Linked DNA regions of Homo sapiens: all the other regions are linked to region 1. The links are contacts of gene promoters, found by promoter capture Hi-C in human tissues and cell types (Jung and others, 2019). All regions are on one chromosome and are shown on one strand. The core of a region is centred on a gene start or on the middle of the fragment in contact, and the rest is flanking DNA. Distances in the headings are between cores, read along the strand shown.

Evidence for each region. The method cuts DNA at HindIII sites, captures the fragments that hold promoters and counts their contacts. A contact is called where the count stands out against the background at its distance.
Region 2: a contact is called between a fragment that was not itself captured here and the fragment with the promoter of RHBDF2 in region 1, in 2 of the 25 tissues and cell types used here (adrenal gland and dorsolateral prefrontal cortex).
Region 3: the fragment with the promoter of FOXJ1 here is called in contact with the fragment with the promoter of RHBDF2 in region 1 in 1 of the 25 tissues and cell types used here (heart left ventricle).
Region 4: a contact is called between a fragment that was not itself captured here and the fragment with the promoter of RHBDF2 in region 1, in 1 of the 25 tissues and cell types used here (adrenal gland).

What each region holds. Positions count from the first base shown.
Region 1 is chr17:76,500,125-76,503,138 of GRCh38, reverse strand. RHBDF2 (rhomboid 5 homolog 2) reads left to right here and starts at 1,716. Exons shown (of 19, transcript NM_001005498.4): 1 at 1,716-1,786. RefSeq lists enhancers at 1,299-1,438, 1,789-2,458 and a silencer at 1,489-2,128. The HindIII fragment of the contact is 32,589 bases long and covers 1-3,014 here.
Region 2 is chr17:76,175,373-76,178,435 of GRCh38, reverse strand. The region is part of intron 2 of RNF157 (ring finger protein 157); the gene reads left to right. Among named protein-coding and RNA genes, the nearest start is that of FOXJ1, 36 kb to the right of the region's middle. The HindIII fragment of the contact is 4,379 bases long and covers 1-3,063 here.
Region 3 is chr17:76,139,961-76,142,917 of GRCh38, reverse strand. FOXJ1 (forkhead box J1) reads left to right here and starts at 1,673. Exons shown (of 3, transcript NM_001454.4): 1 at 1,673-1,804; 2 at 2,354-2,957. The coding sequence starts at 2,523. RNF157 (ring finger protein 157) reads left to right here. Exons shown (of 19, transcript NM_052916.3): 19 at 1-444. RNF157-AS1 (RNF157 antisense RNA 1) reads right to left here and starts at 2,362. Exons shown (of 8, transcript NR_040017.1): 1 at 2,238-2,362. RefSeq lists silencers at 1,678-1,837, 2,516-2,585, 2,646-2,835. The HindIII fragment of the contact is 16,722 bases long and covers 1-2,957 here.
Region 4 is chr17:76,065,605-76,068,779 of GRCh38, reverse strand. SRP68 (signal recognition particle 68) reads left to right here. Exons shown (of 16, transcript NM_014230.4): 3 at 1,450-1,563. Among named protein-coding and RNA genes, the nearest start is that of SRP68, 5.3 kb to the left of the region's middle. The HindIII fragment of the contact is 4,397 bases long and covers 1-3,175 here.

The sequences.
Region 1 (3,014 bases), core at 467-2,966:
ATTATCACAAGTTATACCCCTGGCCTATTTAACATTCTTCCCTCTCTGGCCTCACAGGTGCGTGTTGCTGCAGCCAAGGCTGTAATCAGCCTCCCTGCACCTATGTGGCCGGGCAGCACGCCATGTTTGCATGGGACAAATCCCTGACACCAGCTTAAGCACCACCATGAATCCCTCCCCTCCTGGGGACTCCTGCAGAGCTTCCAGTAGAGCTCCAGGAGAGAGAACCCAGCTCAGGCATTTGCAGCAGTGTTTGTTAGAGTCTAAAGTCAGATCATGACCGAGTTTAAACCCCAGCTGCTCCCCTCACATCTCCCTCTGCCTCAGTTTTCTCATCCCTAAAATGGGGATGATCATAATGGTACCCACTTCATAGACCTGTACTGCGGATTATACAGACTAAAGCACTTTGGAATGGCTAGCTGCTCTCACCCTTCCTGTTACAGTATTGAGTTCCAACGTCTCCCTGTAGAATGCTGGCACTTCGTGGGCAGGCCCTGGTTTTGTTCCTCTCTGCACATAACCCCAGGATGTGCTGGTTGCACAATAAATGGTCCCTTACATTTGTTACTAGGAGCAACCCCCACCCCAGCTTTGGCCCACTCCCCCTCCTTCCAGCCTGTGCCCTCCTCATGGCCCCAGAGCTGGGGAGGAGAGATGCATCTCTCAGGATAATCTCCAGCAGCCAGGTGCTCCCCACCTCCACCCAGGTCAGCAATAAACACCAGAGTCCTTGGGTTGGGGGGCAGGGTGGCTCAGGAGCTCTCTAAGGGCCAGAGGTTTTGCCTTGGCCCTGACAACCCCACCCCCACCCCTCCAAGCCTGAGTCTCTTCAAACTCTGCTCCTCCTGGCCTAGCCAGGCCTCCTGGAGAGGGACGGCGAGATGATAAGCGCTGGGGCTGAGAACGGGGCATCCAGACCTTGGAGTTCGGTCCTAGCTGCCCTGGCCAAGGTTTTGTTTGTCTAGTCCCAAGAGGCAGGCCCTTGGAGTCCAGGGAAGAGAGAAGGAACCACCTGGGCAGACAGACCCAAGCCAAGGGGCCAGGTGTCGCCAGCGTCCCCAATCTCCAGTCTGGCTCTGGCCCGCATGGCAGCTGGAAGGGCCAGAGCTGGGTGGGTTCTGTCAATGCTTCTACGGGGTGTGTAGGGGGTTGGCAGGAGTCACAAATGTTGGCCTTAGCTGCAGGGCAAATGCAGATAGGACCTCCACGGAGTGCCTGTTCCCAACCCAAGGGCACAGCAGAGCTAGGAGAGAGGCCTCAGGGTCCAGGAGGGAGAGGAGGTGTTCAGGCCCAGCTTCCCGGAGAGAGTGTGACTACAGACTAAAAGGGTCAAGGGAACAGGCCCACTTGGCCTGAGGATGAGGGCGCTGGAAGAAGGGGATGGGAGATTGGGTGCTTTTTCTTGATGGGGAGGGGCGACTTGAAGACGGCAATCAAGACCTAGATGACGTGTTTGGTCTGGGGTGGAGTGAGGACGCCAAGAGGGAAAGGACGGCGCCCTGAAGAGACCAGCTCAGGCGAAAACAGGGCTCTGCCCAGGCGGGGACCCAGCTGGGTGGAGGGCGGAGGCAGGAACCCAGGAAGCCGACTGAGCAAAGACTGCGTCCAGGCCCCGCCCCCATGAGCCCGGCCACGCCCCCTGGAGCCCAGCCCCGCCTCCCGGCCGCCCGCGCGCAGGTAGGGAAGAGGCGGAGCGCCGCCGCCCCGCCCCCGAGGAGCCACCGCCCAGCCGCTCGCAGGCGCCGCACGGAGTTGCGTCCCGGGGACTTGGGGCCGCAGGGAGGTGAGCGCGGGGCGACGAGCGGGGCAGGACTCACGGCCGCCCAGCCGCAGGCGCCGGAAGGGTCCCGAGGTTGTGCCCGAGCCTGCCCTGGAGCGGTGGTGCGCGGCCAGGAAGGGTGCCCAGTGCCCGGTGCCCGCCCTGCGGAGCGCCTGGGTCCCACGTGGGCTCGGCTGGAGGCCCGGGCTGGCTCAGACGGCGCCGGCGGGGCCGCTGGACCCGGTCTGCTGGCCCCTAGGGCTCGGCTCGGACAGGACGCCTAAGGGGTCCCTGGGCGACGGGGCGCCAGATGTAGGGGCAAGACGATTGGGCAGAGATTTAAACCTCCGGAGGAAGAGAGGAGACTGCGCAGGGCAGTCCCGCCTGCGTCCCAGAAGTGCCTGCAGTTCAGACCCTTCTCTCCCCTCCACTTTCTCCCGGGTGAGCACCGGGCGGACCGGGGCCGAAGTTTGTTGGTTGAGCCAGCCAAGGTGGAAACAGGTGCGGGGGTGGGGATGAGGGACTCACACAGCAGGGCTGGACCGGAGCTCAGAAATTGGACCCAGGAGTCCTGACTTCTGGATGGAGGGGCTGGGGAAGGTTGGCCCTGGGCTTGCCTTTTACCTGTTTGGCCCCTCGGATGTTCCCCCAGGGCATTGGGATAGAGACGGATAAGTTCCCTAGGGTACAGACCCCGCCCCACTCCCACGCCAGGGCGCAAAGGAAGCCTAGGTTTTGGCCCTGCCCCATTCCATGAAAGATTAACGGAGGGGGCTCTAGGGTTGGAGCTACTGAGAGGGTGGCAGCGGGTGTGTCTGAGGAGCAGAAGGCGGTGGGGAGCTGACCCCACTTGGGGAGAGGCTGCTGTTGCCTGGGCGGCTGGCATCAGGCCCCCAGTGTGTGCCATTTGCTGGTAATATAATGAGACCAGCATCTGCCTTATTCGACCCTCACTGTCCGTAGGGCAGGCAGTGGAAAGGGAGGCGTGTTTTAGAGCTGTGGTTCTCAACCAGGGGCGACTTTGCCTGCCATGGGATATTTGGCAATGTTGGAGTCATTTTGGGTGTCACACACTTGGGAGGGGAAGTGAGTGTTGTTGTTACTGGCAGGTAGTGGGTAGAGGCCAGGGACGCTACCAGACATCTTCAGGGCACGGAACAGCCCACATAACGAGGAATTATCCAGCCCAAGGTGTTGGGCTGTGCTGAGGCTGAGAAACCCTGCGCAGCAGCTGGTCCATCAGGTTCCTTCT
Region 2 (3,063 bases), core at 184-2,683, 320 kb after region 1:
GGGTCCGGCCACTGTGCAGTCAGACACGCCAGCTGCCGCTGTGGGGCTGGCAGCCCCAGGTGCCAGTATAGGTGCCAGCTGTCTGCGAGGCTGTGGCTGGACCAGGTGCACTGCAAGCAGCTCTCCCGGTTGGCACCAGGGAATGTGGTGGCACCCGGAAGCTTGGAGATGCCAGGAACTACAGGGCCACAAAGAGGAAGTCATAGCCCTGGCTTGGGCAGCTCCCAGGTCTGGGCTCCCCGACGGGCCACAGCTCTTCTCTCCTCTTTGCCTGCAACATGACAAGCAAGGAGCATGTTTCAGTCCTGTTTGTGTTACAGCTCTTTTAGTCCCACCATTCCATGGGTCCAAAATTCTTGTCCTGCAACAAGGAAGAATGAGATACACAGACAAACATAGGGTGAGCAAGACGAAGAGGAGCCTTATTGAGCCTTGGAACAGCTCAGAGGATACCCGCAGTGGGTAGCTCTTTCCGCAGCCAGGGTGTCCTGACAAGTGTCCTAGCATAGAGACCCTGGAGTGGGAAGCTCTTTTCCGCAGGAAGGTCATCCTGTCTTCTCTGCAGCTCTCAGCAGAGAGGAGGCCCTGGAGTGCGTAGCTCCTCTCTGCAGCTGGTCTTATGGACATCTCTGCAGCTATCAGCAGAGAGGAGGCACTGGAGTAGGTTGCTCCTCTCTGCAGCTGGTGGTCCCAACCTCTGCTCTGTTCTGGCTGAGCCTGGGCCTTTTATGGGCCTCAGAGGGGAGGAAGTGCAGGTAGACTGGTCCCTGGGCATCCATGGGCAGGCCTAGAAAAGGCAACACAAGTTCCCACTCCAGTGGGCGGGACTGGCAGCCAGGCCCCCAGCCTTCACGTCCTCCCTGAAGGCCAGCACCAAGCTGCCCTCAGCACCCCCTCGCCTCTCCCCCTTCCCCTTCCCTCATGCTCATCAGTGCCCAAAGTCTGGAAGGGGCCGAGGCAGCAGGGGGCTGGCTTGTCAGCGCTACCCCGAGCATGTGCACTCCTAGCCTGGCTGCAACAGCACCTTGGCTTGGCCCCACACTGCTCTAAGATCAGAGCCAGCACCAAGAGCAAGCAGAAGCTAGGCGGCAGGAGCAGGCACTTCCGAGCCTGCTGGGGCGGGGGGGTGGGAGGGCTTTTCCGTGTCTCCAAGAGCTTATGGAGGCCCCCGATCCACAGCCCAAGGCGGGGCTGCTGCCTGTTCCTGGCTTCCACCGGCTCTGTGGAGCATGCAGCCCCTGCAGCACCCCCTTGCAGCCTGGGGCAGGGGCTCCAGGTCCTCACTGGGCCGGGGCCAGGGCCGGGGCCAGTGTCCAGGGCAGGGTGACATCGCCATGAGCTCTGCCTGTTCCCCCGGTGCTTCACGGGCAGTCTGGGACAGAGTGGATCCTGGGCCTGGGCCTGGGCCAGGCCATCTGCCCAGGAGTGTCAGGCTCAGTGGTCACCCCAATGTGGGGCAGACCTGGGGGCGCAGCCCCAGACGGGCTGCGCAGAACCTCCTCCCGAGGCACAGGAACCTGGCACCCTCGGCAGGGTGGGCACAGTGGCTGCGCCAATGGCCAGGTGCCCGAAGCGGAAGCTGCTCCCACTTCCTGCCCGGGGCCCCTGAAGCATGGCCCCAGCTCCGCGCCCAGGCCTGGCCCTGGCGCTCCATGAGCAAGCGGGACACTGGCCAAGGCCCAGCTCCGCCTCGGGGCTCCTCTTTGCCCTACCGCGCTGCTCTTCTGCCACGCTGCTCCTCTGCTGGTGGGTAACCCGGCCAGCCCCATGGGGTGGCCTCCAGGGCGGCAAGCTGTGGAGGGGCTGTCTGTCTGCTCCCTGCGACCCCCCTGCAGCAGCCGTTGTGATGGCAGCGGCTGCTCTGGACAGCCCACCACTGTCATCAATAGTAAGCACTCAATAAATGGTAATTTTTGAAAGGAAGATAACTCACTAAGAAATTTCGAGAGTAATAGTAGGCAAAATCGATTTACAGAAGAATGGGAGACAACTCTAAGAGCAGAAAAAAAATTTTTTTTAATTTGCCTCTGATCCTACTGTCCCCTCCATCTTCTCTGTTATCTCTGAATTTGCAAATTTCATTTATCCTTTAGGATCCCAGATCAACTACCAACTCCTCCATGAAGCCTTCAGATTACCTCAGCCAGAAATGATCACTTCCTTTATTTTTGCCTTTTGTGGCAAAAAAATATCCATATATTTAATCTCTTTGATATTACAATTACTATGTCAGCTGCCTTATAATGCAGCTTCCTGAAAGAGCAGGGCCTTATCTTCTTGGTTTTCAATCTCTCCTTACTCCTGGCATGGAGTGTTGCATGTAGACTCTGATTGCATGAATGCAAGGCCAGCAAGGCACAAACTTTGGTGGGTAGCAGCCCACGAACAAGCTTCTCCTGAACAGATTTGCCGTTGTTGTCTTGTGCGTGTATGTGTGTGTACAGGGAGAGCCTAAAGTATAGGGGTGGATTTATAAACAATTGAACTCATTGATACCTTTCCTTAAGAGCCAAATAGCTTATGTTTCATTGCCACAGTTATCATCAAATATATTCAAAATGGAGGATAAAGAGTGCCAGGATTTTTTTTTCTTTCTTTTTATTTTTCTCTCTTTTGCGGCAGGGAGTGGCTATGGAGGAGAAAGAGTAAAGAATAAGGGAAAAGACGCATCTTTTTTTTGAAATGCAGGTAGGAGTTATGGATAACGCCCAAGTACCTGTACAAATGAAAATGATTAACTTTGCTACTCCAGAAAAAAATTTTAATCCCAAAGTCATTTATTTTGGCTTTAGAATAGACTAGCGTTTGTGTCGGATTTTCCTGCCTAATTACTTTTTGCTTAAGCTTATTTAAAAATTGTTTTAAATTCCTTTAGTATGACAGCCTAGGAAAGTTGGGGGAGGAGAAACAGGCCACAGATGGGATCTGAACTAGAATTTCAGTTTTACCATGTCAAGGCCTCCTGATGCACTGCTTGCAGGAGGGCAAAGTTGGAGTCAGCTTTGTGGAAAACTGTTTGGCAAAATAATTTTTAAAGTCTTAAAAATATGCTTACTCTTTGAT
Region 3 (2,957 bases), core at 424-2,923, 360 kb after region 1:
CACAGCCTAACTATGGAGACCCAGGGCTCCTTCCTGCTGCACTAGGCCTGTGCTCTCCCTATTGCCTTCAGGTGGTGTGATCCCGGCTTCCTCACAGAGCCCTTTTTTCCTTCTGCCCAGCTCCATCCCACCAGAGTTTCTACCCCCGCTGAGGCATCTCCTGGGCACAGACCACCACACTCTAAGCCGGCTGGCCTGGGAGTTAGGGTCCTGCCCACCTCACCTGGGAGTTGGGGTCCTGCCCACCTGGAGTTTAGCACGCTGGTCGCTCACTTTGCTTTGGTCTGCACACCTGGTGTGTGCATGTGTATACTGCTTGTGCCATCTGTGTACCCCTCTCCCTGGAGTACACTTGTGGTCACACTACAGTGGGGACATCAAGAATGCAATATTTATGGATTGCTGCATGATTCTTAAAAATGAATAAAACTGTTTACAAGGGAAGGAGAGCTAACTGCAAAGTGAGCTTATCTGTGAAAGTTTCTGTCTGACTTTCGCCAGCACTCTTTAATACTTTTACTCAAGAGGATCTGGAGTTGGAGGAGTGGGAGAGGCAAGGGCTAGGGAAAGGCATGTTGGCGGGGGAGTGATGCGCCATAGCCGGGCCTTCTTCATGGTCTGGGCACCAGCCTCCCCGACCCCGGCTCTCCAGCTCCTGGGCAGAGGCGGGGTAATCAACCCAGCCCCCACCACTGCCTCTGCAGCCGCCTTAAACCGGAGAACGTCCAACCCTGCAGCTCCTCAATAATTAAAGAGCAGGAAAGCTGGTGACAGGAGGGAGGCCAGGGGAAGGGAGGAGGAAGGGACACAGTCCCCAGAGTCCCTCTACTCTTAATCCCTGTGACTTAAAGGTTGGTGAAATTAATTGGGCAAATGACCCCGCTAGGAGAATTTGACAAGTCCATGACTTCAGAGTTTTACCCACGGGCTCTGCTTCATCAGCTGTCTCCAGAGGAGTGAGTGCGCTTCTGCAGAAGCCTCTGGAATGTCAGCTTCCTGGAACCTCGAGGATACGGGTGGGGAAGGAGCTGCTTACTGGGACACACTGGATTACCCTACCCCCTTGGTGTGTCTGCCGCCTCTGTGGATGTAAGCGGCAGGTGGCATCGGAAAGTCAGACCTGCCTGGGACACCAGAGAAAGACCCTAAGAGTCGGGGGAGAGGGAAAGGCTGCAGAAACATGAGAAAGTGCCACTCGTAGCGGAGAGGAAAGAAAACCTCAAGGATACGGTTCCCGAGCCTGAGCCCGCTCCCAGCCTTAGCCCCCCAACCCCAGGCTCCGTCCCAGGAGCAGTCGACGCCTCAAAGCGTACGGGACAGGAAGGGGGTGGGGGCGAGAGTCTTGGTTCCCCAGAACGAACGGATCCATAGCGGTTCCCGGTGCCGCAGGCCGCGCGCTTCTCCGACCCCAGCGCGGGGCCCTCGGGCGGGAATGAGCCGAGCCGGGACTTAGCGGCGGGTAGGGGGTTGGGTGGCGCGGGAGAGGGCGGCAGAAGGAGGGAGTTCGAAGAGAGTTGCCGCCAGGGAGAGTGGCAAGTGCCCGCGGTCTCCTTGGAGACGTGCTGGCCAATGGCAGAGGCGGAAGCTGTTTATGGGGGCGGAGCGTCGCCATGGCAGCAGGAGAAGCCTTTGGAGCGGCTACTTAATGCCGGTCCCGGGGCCGCGGTAGCTCAGAGAAGCGCCGTCGGGCGGGGGGGCGGCAAGAGGCGCTGGCAGGGCCCCCGAGCTGGGGGCAGAGAGCCGCAGGGGGTGGGAGCAACTTCTTCCAGAACCTTCCTCTGGCCCGGGCTGCGCTCTGAGCCAGGTAAGGGATGGGGAGGGCTGCAGGCCAGGGGGAAGGGTGGGCAACGGTACCAACCCGCTCTCTCATTCGTCCTTAACGGAAGTGGTGGGCCCAGGGACTGACATCGGAGAAGTCTGGGGGAAACTCGCCTCCTGCCCCCCGTTACTGTTCCGTCCCCTTCCTTCCCAATGATCCCCTATCATAATATTCCTTTTCAAGGATCAGAGGACCTCCACCGCCCCCGCCCCGTCGTACCGCCCTCCCAAACTTCTCGCCCCACTTCCATTTGTTGCGAGGAGGAAGGGGGTCCTGATTTCCTGCTCTTCGGGAGAAAAGGATAGCCTCGGATGCCCCTACCCTCTTCATTTGGCTAATAAAACCTCGAAGAGGAAAGGAAGAGGGAGGCAGATCTGATGGGGGTGGGACCCCAGGGCCTTGCTTCTGTTTCCCATACCTCGGCACTAAAAGATCCTCCCCAGCTGCGGGGATGATGTTAGAGAGGGCGTCCCCGTACACACACTGTCCCCTCGGGGGTGGGGTAGTGCTCAGCTCCCACCGTGGTCCTCGCAGGCACCACATACTTATTCGGAGGAGGCGCCCCCGGGGTCGCGAGATGGAAGCGCGCGTCCGGGAGGCCGTGTAACGGGAGCTGCGGGACTCAGCGGGCCAGAGAGCGCGGCGGGCCACCCCCGGCTCAGCCCGTGGATGCTGACCGCCCCCTCGGAGAGTCCCCGCAGACATGGCGGAGAGCTGGCTGCGCCTCTCGGGAGCCGGGCCGGCGGAGGAGGCCGGGCCGGAGGGCGGCCTGGAGGAGCCCGACGCCCTGGATGACAGCCTGACCAGCCTGCAGTGGCTGCAGGAATTCTCCATTCTCAACGCCAAGGCCCCCGCCCTGCCCCCGGGGGGCACCGACCCCCACGGCTACCACCAGGTGCCAGGTTCAGCGGCGCCCGGGTCCCCCCTGGCGGCCGACCCCGCCTGCCTGGGGCAGCCACACACGCCGGGCAAGCCCACGTCGTCGTGCACGTCGCGGAGCGCGCCCCCGGGGCTGCAGGCCCCACCCCCCGACGACGTGGACTACGCCACCAATCCGCACGTGAAGCCTCCCTACTCGTATGCCACGCTCATCTGCATGGCCATGCAGGCCAGCAAGGCCACCAAGATCACCCTGTCG
Region 4 (3,175 bases), core at 474-2,973, 430 kb after region 1:
AAAAATAATTCTCCCTGCACTAAAGGGATTTATATTAGTGGACAACTATGTGAGAACATAATTATAATGTCACACACTGTAATAGAAGGAAGAATAAAGAGCTACATGAGCATAGAGGAGGAGGCTTGGCATAGAGGTGACATTTGTAGTGCTTCTTGGCGATAACCTAATTGGCTTCCTCACTTTTCTTCAGACCTGCCTGCAGTTCTTTCTCCATATGTTTGGTGTCATCTTAGTCTTCCTCAGGATGCCCCTTTCCCTGCTTTCTTTACATTTATTAGAATCCTCCTCATTCTTCTTCTTCTTCTTTTTTTTTTTTTTTTTCAGACACAGTCTTGCTCTGTTGCCTAGGCTGGAGTGCAATGGCGTGTTCTCGGCTCACTGCAACCTCCACCTCCCGGGTTTAAGCAGTTCTCTGCCTCAGCCTCCCGAGTAGCTAGAATTATAGGCGCCCGCCCGCCATGCCTGGCTAATTTTTTTTTTTTTCGAGACGGAGTTTTACTGTTGTTGCCCAGGCTGAAGTGCAATGGCGCAATCTTGGCTCAACGCAACCCCCACCTCCTGAGTTTAAGCGAATGTCCTGCCTCATCCTCCCGAGTAGGCTGGGATTACAGGCATGTGCCACCACAACTGGCTAATTTTGTATTTTTAGTAGAGACGGGGTTTCTGCATGTTGGGCAGGCTGGTCTCGAACTCTTGACATCAAGTGATCCGCCCACCTCGGCCTCCCAAAGTGCTGGGATTACAGGTGTGAGCCACTGCACCCAGCCCCTCATTCTTTCTAGGCCCCGCCATCAGTCCACTGCAGCTGAAGGTGCTAACAAGAGAATGATTACCCATGTCCTTTCAACTTGACATTTGCCTTGTTTTCTTGGTTGCCATTTTCTCTGCATGATTCTACTCAATTTTAATGTGGGTTCCTTGAACATGGGCACTGTGTCCTCCATCTCTTTGTGTTTCCTATAATACCAATCATATTGCCCTCCATGTTTTAGTTGTTCAATAAATGTTTAGGGCCGGGTATGGTGGCTCATGCCTGTAATCCCAGCACTTTGGAAGGCTGGGGTGGGCGGATTGCTGGAGTCCAAGGATTTCGAGACCAGCCTGGGTGACATAGTGAAACCCTGTCTCTACAAAAAGTACAAAAATTAGCCATGTGTGGTGGTACACCTCTGTTGGTCACATCTACCCAGGAGGCTGAGGTGGGAGGATTGACTGAGCCTGGCTGCAGTGAGCCAAGATCACACCACTGCACTCCAGCCTGGGTGACAGAGCCAGACTCTGTCTCAAAGAAAAGAAAAAAATGTTTGGAAGCTGATATGTGATAATTCTAGTAACCATAAGTATAATATCCCAAACCATTGACCCTTGACCTTGCCTTATTGCAGAATTTATTATTCAAAATACTCTCAGCTTGGCTGAGTGAGTTTTGTTTGTGGTTTCTTACAGGGGCTACTGTTCCCGTAGACAAAGACGTCTTCGAAAAACACTCAACTTCAAGATGGGTAACAGACACAAATTCACAGGGAAGAAAGTGACTGAAGAGCTTCTGACCGATAATAGGTATTGACTGCTCCATGCTAGTTGCAAATTACTTCTTGCTAATACATTTATTGAACAATGACGTGGTAGACTTCATGCCAAACCTTTTAATTATCTCTGTGGGCTGGGCATTGTTTACTATTCCTGTGTTCTAAGGCAAGGAAACTGAGGCTCAAAGAGATACATTAGGTTGTTCAAGAACTGTGTTGGGGCCAGGTGCAGTGGTTCACGCCTATAATCCCAGCACGTTGGGAGGCCAAGGTGGGTGGATCACCTGAGGTCAGGAGTTCAAGACCAGCCTGGCCAACATGGCAAAACCCCTACTTTACTAAAAATATAAAAATTACCCGGGCATGGTGGCAGGCGCCTGTAATCCCAGCTACTCAGGAGGCTGAGGCACAAGAATTACTTGAACCCGGGAGGCAGAGGTTGCAGTGAGCCAAGATCACACCATTGCACTTCAGCCTGGGCAACAAGAGTGACACTCCATCTCAAAAAAAAAAAAAGGAGGGGGTGAGATTCACTGTCTCAGCTTTGGAGCCCCCCTTCCTCTGTCTCTGTACAGGGAAGCTTCTTCTCCCTTCTTGCCTATTAAACTCTGCTTTTTAAAACCAAAAAAAAAAAAAAAAAACCTGTTGGGATGGCAAATGTTGAAGTCAGTGATTAGAATCTAATTGATTATTAGGTAAGGTTTCTAGAATATAAATTTCAATGTCTGAAACTAGATGCATATATCAATATATCTTAATGAAATTGAGTGGTTGAGTGGTGTGTTTTTTTTTTTTTTTGAGACGGAGTCTCACTCTGTTGCCCAGGTTGGAGTGCAGTGGTGTCGTCTCACCTCACTGCAACTTCCACCTCCCGGGTTCAAGCTTCTCCTGCCTCAGCCTCCGGAGTAGCTGGGATTACAGGCACGTGACACCACGCCCAGCTGAGTTTTGTATTTTTAGTAGAGACAGGGTTTCACCATGTTGGCCAGGCTTGTCTTGAACTCCTGACCTCAGGTGATCCACCCACCTCTTGCCTTCCAAAGTGCTGGGATTACAGACGTGAGCTACTGCGCCAGGCTGGTGTGTAAATTATTATAGAAGAGTCTTGTATTTCAGTGCTGAATACACCAGTGCTTGGCATTTGCTGAAGAATTTTTAGTCTGTCAGGCAACATGTAGTCAAGGCCCCCGGGTCTTCCTCACAGTTACGGGCCAAATTACGCTGCTGCCACCTTTTGTGTAAATGAAGTTTTATTGGAACCCAGCCACGCCCATTCACATAGGTATTGTTTAGAGCTGCTTTGTGCTACATCAGCAGAGTAGTTGTGACACACTAGATATAGAAGGAGAGGAGGCATGGTCCTTGAACCTCATTGACTTTCATCTTATTGGAAAATGTTGGTCAGTGCAAACCAGGGAATGCTACAGTAAAAGTGCAATGTTGTATATCATTTACTGTTCAGCATTCTAAAGCCTTGGAAAGGAGACTTGAGCTTGAAGGCTTTTGACAGGGAAGTCAGTAAGCCCACACAGAGGAGGCTTGACCTTGAAGGATTTGTGAGAGTGAAGAACATTCTGTGTCGGGGGAAGCAGCATGCCCTGGTATCCGTGCATGCAGTCTAGGAACTGTAAAGCTCTGGACAC